2 separate regions of the Homo sapiens genome follow, and region 1 is linked to region 2. The links are contacts of gene promoters, found by promoter capture Hi-C in human tissues and cell types (Jung and others, 2019). All regions are on one chromosome and are shown on one strand. Each heading gives the region's core, a stretch centred on a gene start or on the middle of the fragment in contact. The rest is flanking DNA. Distances are from core to core; before and after follow the strand shown. Region 1 overlaps ZNF92 (zinc finger protein 92). Region 2 holds the start of ZNF138 (zinc finger protein 138).

Region 1 (3,916 bases), core at 567-3,066, 590 kb after region 2:
CTGAGGTACTAAGCATAGAACCAAATGGGTATTTTTTTCCTGATCCTCTTTGTCCTGCCACCCTCTACCCTCAACTAGGCCTCAGTGTCTGTTTTTCCTCTTATTGTCTCCATGTGTTGTTGTTATTTAGCTCTTATAAATGATAGCATGCATTTGGTTTTCTGTTTCTGCATTAGTTTTCTAAGGATAATGGTCTCCAGCTCCATCCATGTTGCTGCAAAGAAAATGATCTTGTTCTTGTTTTATGGCCACACAATATTCCACTATTTTTATGTACCATATTTTGTTTTTATTAAATCTTTATTTTATTTATTTCTGAAGACAGGGTCTCACTCTGTCGCCCAGGCTGGAGTGCAGTGGTGTGATCTTGGCTCACTGCAGCCTCAATCTCAATCTCCTGGGCTCAAGCAATCCTCCTACCTAAGCCCCCCAAGTAGCTGGGACTACAGCGTGCACGACCACGCCTGGCTAATTTTTCTTTTTGTATTTTTTGTACAGACAGAGTTTTGCCATGTTTCCCAGGCTGGTCGCCAACTCCTGAGCTCACGCAATCCACCTGCCTCACCCTGCCAAAGTGCTGGGATTACAGGCGTGAACCACTATGCTCAACCACAATGTATTTTCTTTATCTAGCCTACCATTGAGGGTATTTAGGTTAATTCCATGTCTTTGGTACTGTCACTAGTGCTGCAATGAAGATGCATGTGCATGGGTCTTTATGATAGAATAATTTGTATTCTTTGGGTATATACCTAATTAGGAGGTGGGTCAAATGGTAATTCTGTTTTTAGTTTTGTGAGGAATTGTCACACTGCTTTTCACAATGGTTGAACTAATTTACACTCCCACCAGCAGAGTATAAGCATTCTCTTTACCCTGCAACTTTGCCAGCACATCTATTATTTTTTTGACTTTTTTGGTAATTGCCATTCTTACTGGTGTGAGATGGTATCTCATTGTGGTGTTTTTTTTGTTTGTTTGTTTGCATCTCTCTAATGATTAGTGATGAGCACTTTTTTAATATGCTTGTTAGCCACATGTATGCTTTCTCTTTTTTTTCTTTTCTTTTTGGAGATGGAGTCTCGCTCTGTTATCCAGGCTGGAGTGCAGTGGCACGATCTCGGCTCACTGCAACCTCCATCTCCTGGGTTCAAGCAATTCTCCCTCAGCCTCCCAAGTAGCTGGGATTACAGGCACGCCCCACCATGCCTGACTAATTTTTGTATTTTTTTTAGTAGAGACGGGGGTTTCACCATATTGGCCAGGCTGGTCTCGAACTCTTGACCTTGTGATCCACCCACCTTGGCCTCCCAGAGTGCTAGGATTACAGGTGTGAGGCACCACACCCACCTGCTTTCTCTTGAAAAGCGTGTGTTTATGTCCTTTGCCTACTTTTTAATAAGGTTTTTTTTTTCTTGTAAACTTGCTTAAGTTCCTTATGGATTCTGGATATTAGACCTTTGTCAGAAGCATAGTTTGCAAATATTTTTCTTTATTCTCTAGGTTGTCTGTTTACTCTGTTGATAGTTTCTTGTGGGTTTTGTTTTTGTTTTCTGTGAAGATGCTCTTTAGTTTAATTTGGTCCCATTTATCGATTTTTGCTTTTGTGGCGATTGCTTTTGGTATCTTCATCATAATATCGTTGGCAGTTTCTATGTCTGGAATTGTATTTCCTAGGTTATCTTCCAGGGCATTTTATAATTTTAAGTTTTACATTTAAGTCCTTAATTTATCTTGTGTTTATTTTTGGATATAGTGTAAGCAGGGAGTCCAGTTTTAATCTTTTACATAGTGCTAGCTATTTATTACAACACCATTTATTAAACAGGGAATCTCTCCTACATTTCTCTTGTCAGCTTTGTCAAAAATACGATGATTGTAGGTGTGCCACATTATTTCTGGGCTCTCTATTCTGTTGCATTGGTCTCTGAGCCTGTTTTTGTACTGGTATCATGTTGCTGTGGTAGTGCTCAGAGTAGAGAGCTATTGCTTTAAAATGCAAATAGCCAAAAAGAGAGCACTATATTCAACCATTTCTATAGGAGAGTGAGAGCCTACCTTCAGCAGGCACCTGGCTTCAAATTGCAAAACTACCTCCTGTCACGAAGATGTGAAAAGTTTATTTTGTCATTGAATATAGCCAATTAGCTTACACGGATGGCCTCCCCAGTTGCCAGGTGAATTTAGGATGAACTATGTATAACATGGTACTGTAAATTCTTCTACTTATGGACTAATTATTGTGACCGTCTTTCTGTCTTTGCAGTCTCTTAAGCAGATTGTGATGCGTGTCACATTCTGGTGTAATTGTGTAATAAAACAGTTTTCTTTCTGTTTTATCATTGTGGAGTTACTCTGGGGCTGGAGAAAACTTTCCTTTTAATTATATTTTCCAAACACTGTTTAAACTTACCACACATGATATAAACATATAAGGTGCCAACCAAGCTTTAATCTAGATGGGCCTTTTTGTCTCAGGCTTCCAGTCAACTCATGATTGTGCTGCAAAATGCATGCTGTCCCCTGAATATGCAGGCAGAATCGTGCCTCTGCCTATTTGGTATCTAGTCCTGTATAATCACATCTAGAGAGGCTAGACCAAATTTCTAAATACTTCACAGAACAGCAATTAACCATTTTACCTCTTTCAATGACTCTTGTATCTTTAGACCTGAAACTGATTCAGAGACTGTGGGGCCCGTTAGAGTAACATGCATGCATTGAGTAGACATGTAGGCATGAGAATCTCCACTTTCCCCTTCCTTCTCTTTTTAAAATGCCCACAAATGTGCAGGTAACACTTACTGCTATTCTACCCATCCAGGACCTAAACTAGCGGCTCCACATTCTGAATCTGGGTCTTGCAGTAAACCTTTTATCTGAGAAATGCAAATCCTTTTAGTTATAAGGCTCAAAGAGACATTAAAACGAGACCACAATTGTGTCTTTCTCTCTCCTTTGAGCTATGTATTTATCTCTTGAAACTGCTTGCTATTGCCACGAGTAGCTATAAATTAAACTAATAATGCTACGCTGAACACTATAACCCACACCCTATACAGCTTAGAAATGTATGTCAATCAGTAATCAAGGTTGTTTTTAGTAAATAAGTAAGATTTCCTGACAATTTTGTATCAGCCCACTCTCTATCTCTTTTTGCCTTTAAAAATCCACTTGTAACTGCTGCTAGATTCCAGGCAACTTGAATCTTTGCTCCCAGTTTACAATCTTCAAGCTTGGCCCAAGTGAACTGTCTACTTACATTTGTGGTTCCTCAGCTTTTTCCTATGAAGGAGGAAATTAAGGACATATTATTTAGAATGTGCCAGAGCAGCCTTTATGAGGGGATCTCTCCTTTGGTTGTACTTTTGCTGTAACACCCAAGAATGCAGAGCCAGGTTGACCCCATCTAGAATCTTCACATGTCTGGCCTGGGATTTGCAAGACAGGAGCAGACTTTGGATTGAAAATGTACAGAAAACCAAGAGGAGGCATTCTCTGCATTGTGAGATGTCAACATAGACATCTTAAAGCTACCTCCTTTGAGAGTGTGGCTATTTGAGCTTTTCAGATCTTGTTCAGTGACCTGTTACTGTTACGTGAGAGGTGCCAGGTATAAATAGAATCTGATGGCAGAATCTGTAAATGTAAACAAAGCATCTTAGGAGTGAGAGATCAAGGCCACAAAGTATCCAGAGCCATGACTACAACTATACCTACCTGTAAAAAATGTGATACTGGAGTAGAGTATTCTTGTCCTTTCTCTTACCCAAAGACTACCTGATCAGGACAGGTAATCCAGGTTCTGGAGCTCCACCAGGGCAGTTCTGTTTTCTATTTAGAATCAGCCTAAGTCTCTACTGCCTGGCTTACTACTGGGCCATCAGCCCAGGATCACTGAGAACCCTCTCACAAT
Region 2 (3,671 bases), core at 1,092-3,591:
TTTCTGTACCTCAATTTCATTTTCTGTATGCCACTTTGCTTTTTCTGTTGATCAATTTTTTTACCATGTTGCTGTGCTGGAGTCTCTCTGAGCCTATTCTGGGCCCACAGGCTGCCTGATTTGCAAATCATTCTTTGTTCATTTAGACTCTGTTACATTCAATTTCTCTGAAGGTTTTGTTTTTTTTTTTAGATGTTTACAGATTTTATCTATGATAAAAAATAAGTAATGTGTTGCTGGGCTTTGATTTTCTCAACTCATCCCTCATCTATCTTTTTCCACATATGCTATGTCCTTTTGAAATGCTCCTGCAACTTTTTTCTTTTCTGTTTCTTTTCTTTTCTTTTTTTTTTTTTGGAGAAAGGATCACACTCTCACCACCCAGGCTGAAGTGCAGTGTCGTAACCAATCATGGCTCACTGCAGCCTCGACCTTCCAGGCTCAAGTAATCCTCTTGCCTCTGCCACCTGAGTAGCTGGGACTACAGGATTGCCTCATGCTGGCTAATTTTTATTTTTATTTATTTTTATTTTTTATTTTTTTTGAGACGGAGTCTCGCTCTGTCACCCAGGCTGGAGTGCAGTGGTGGGATCTTGGCTCACTGCAAGCCCCATCTCGTGGGTTCATGCCATTCTCCTGCCTCAGCCTCCCGAGCAGCTGGGACTGTATTTTTAGTAGAGACGGGGTTTCACCGTGTTAGCCAGGATGGTCTCGATCTCCTGACCTCGTGATCTGCCCTCCTCGGCCTCCCAAAGTGCTGGGATTACAGGCATGAGCCACCGCGCCCGGCCATGACTGGCTAATTAAAAAAAAAAAAATTTTCATGCACATAGGATCTTAACTATGTTATTCAGGCTGCACTTGAACTCCTGAGCGCAAGTGATTCTCCCATCTCAGCTTGCCAAAGTGCTAGGATTATAGATGTGAGCTACCGTGTGCTTCTTCAATTTCTTAAGATTATTTCTAGCAATAATAATAAACAGTGCTATATGGGCACAAATCTAAAAGAAATCTGGCTTCTATTTTAGAAGTGTCACTCTCCAGGATTTCAAGGGTCAAATGGAGTTAATTCTGAGTCCCAGCCCAGCCACTTAATAGCTGTGGGTCTTTGCACAAATTTTTTTTTTTTTGATGTGGAAGAGTTATATAAACCACATATGCAAAAAAAGGCAGAATGATACTGATTGCAAAAATGTTAGCAATTTTTCATCCCTCCGCTATCCATGCCCATTGCCAGGTGCATTTACAGCTGTTTCCATTGAGATCCAGTTCTGTTTTCCAAACCCTAGATCTGGCTGGCCTTATTTGCTCAGGGCAGTAAAAACCTGTGAACAGTGCAGTGTGCTAGTTTGAGGCGTAGGCTCAAATGGTTTTGCATGCTTCTGTTTTTCTTTCAGAAGGCTACTATCTCCGCGAAAAAAGCCCATGTTAGCCAGATGGAAGATAAAATAGTATGGGGAGGAGAAGCAAGTTGCCTCTGTTGACAGCCTCAGAAGCAGAAGCTCACCCCCAGAAGCACAGCTGCCTAGTCAACAAGCAGCTGATGATACATGTCTGAAGGAACTCAGCTGAGGTCACAAGAATGGTCTCACTGAGCCCAGCCTAAATGACTAACCATCTCAATTAGAGTGAATTCCACCTGTTTATTCTTAAAGTTTGACTACTAGAAAATTTGGAATTCACATGTGCTCTGTAATCCCAGCACTTTGGGAGGCCGAGGCAGGTGGATCACCTGAGGTCAGGAGTTCGAGATCAGCCTGACCAACATGGCAAAATTCTGTCTCTATTAAATATACAAAAAGTAGCCGGGCGTGGAGGCGGGTGCCTGTAATCCCAATTACTCAGGAGGCTAAGGCAGGAGAATCACTTGAGCCCGAGATGCGGAGTTTGGGGTGAGCCGAAATCGTGCCACTGTGCTTGAGCCTGGGTGAGAGTGAGACTCTGTCTCAAAAAAAAAAAAGAAAAAAATCTCAGGCTGCCTGCTCAAAGGACCAGAAGCCAGTACGGTTATAAAATCTGGAATTTAAAAATAATTGTTATATTCAGATGTGAATAGCTATATGTTATTTATAAATGCATACGACCTTATACACAAGGTTAAATGCAAATGCCCTCTGGGGTGGGCCTGACTCAGCTCAGGGAGGAAGCCCTTCTGGAAAAGGCTGCTGCTTAGGTTTAACTCTGTCTTCCTTCAGCCCAGCACCTGAGCACATCTGTCACTCAGGGCCTGAGGGGGCGGGTTGTTAAACGTTATCCAATCAGGGACGCCGGGCTGGGAACGGTCCAATCAGGCACCCAGCTGGAGCGGACATGACGTCTTCCGGGAGGCGGCGGGGTCTTTGTCTCGCTGCAGCGGGTGCTGCAGGTCTGGCCTTCACTTTTCTGCGTCCTCTTACTCCTAGAGGCCCAGCCTCTGTGGCGCTGTGATCTGGTTATTGGGAGATTCACAGCTAAGACGCCAGGATCCCCCGGAAGCCTAGAAATGGTGAGAGTGCTGGGTCCGACATCCCGAGAGAGGGGGAGGGAGCTGGTTGGAACCGGTCGGAAGTGGCTGTGGCAGTACTCGGGTCTTCCCGCAGTCGGCTGCAAAATCCGCGGCCCCGAGTTCTTGGCACAGCTCGGCCCTCAGTCCCCTTAAGCCATAGCATGGCAGCTGGGCTGACAGCCGGAACCAGGCGTCCTGTCTCCTCCCTGCGCAGTGACTGTGCCCTGGCCTGGAGCCCTCTCTGAGCAGCTCTGCACCCGCAGCGATTGTGCAGAGACGACGGGAGGGTCGTCAGGGGAGAATCCTGACTCGGGGTGCTGGGTTCATGAATGGGAAGAGGTTTCCTCCGCGGGCTTCCCTGTCCCTCTTTTCCCCTATTAAAATTTATGAAAGTCACCGCAAAAAAATTAATTTAATCAAACAGTGATTCAAGAATTGTGGAGCACCCAGCTGTGGTTTGCAGTAGTGGTCCGTGGGAGGGGTTTGAAGGAAACACTTGTATAAGGTGTATGATAAAACCAAATTCAGTAATTGGTTAGTAGAGTTATGTAGTTTCTTAATTTGTACAATGAAGGAGGAAATTTCCTGGTCATGTAATCAGAGGTTAATTGGCAGTTTACAGTTGGTTAAACATGAATTTTATTTTTCACAAGGTAGTAATTTACAAAAAAATGCATTTGAGTTAGATTTTTTTAAAACCAGAAACCCTGGGACTGGAGCGACCTCAGTCTAATTGCCTGCCACTTAATTATTTTCACACTCCACAGGGGACAGATCTTCCCCTTCATTTTTCACATGTGTCCCAAGCAGGGTCTCAAGACTCCTCCCCCTCCCCATTTCCCATTCCTTCAGCCTAACTCTGGCTTGCAGTAAAATACTAAATTTCCAGTTCCTTCTGACATTCCCAAATGCCAACTTCCCCTTCCTAATTCACATTATCAACTATTTGTCCTTTAGTGTACATTTGAAATACTGTATTTTAATTAATCATTTTTTGACAAAGCATGGATGGCATTTTAAAAAAGATTTGTTATCTGTTTGTAAATATTTCCCATGAGAAGAAACCAAAGACTCATCCCCTGATGCTGTATTGTAAAAAATCTCTGTGCCTTTTTTTTTTTTTTTAAATCTTCCCTAGGTACAGAGATCTTATCAGAATATTTTTGGGTCAAGGTTTCCCTTTGGA

Evidence for each region. The method cuts DNA at HindIII sites, captures the fragments that hold promoters and counts their contacts. A contact is called where the count stands out against the background at its distance.
Region 1: a contact is called between a fragment that was not itself captured here and the fragment with the promoter of ZNF138 in region 2, in 1 of the 25 tissues and cell types used here (dorsolateral prefrontal cortex).

Annotation. Positions count from the first base shown.
Region 1 is chr7:65,379,961-65,383,876 of GRCh38, forward strand. The region is part of intron 1 of ZNF92 (zinc finger protein 92); the gene reads left to right. Among named protein-coding and RNA genes, the nearest start is that of ZNF92, 8.1 kb to the left of the region's middle. The HindIII fragment of the contact is 3,903 bases long and covers 1-3,768 here.
Region 2 is chr7:64,792,087-64,795,757 of GRCh38, forward strand. It overlaps ZNF138 (zinc finger protein 138), which reads left to right and starts at 2,342. Exons shown (of 4, transcript NM_001271639.2): 1 at 2,342-2,485. The coding sequence starts at 2,483. RefSeq lists enhancers at 2,068-2,117, 2,358-2,597, 2,382-2,942. The HindIII fragment of the contact is 15,546 bases long and covers 1-3,671 here.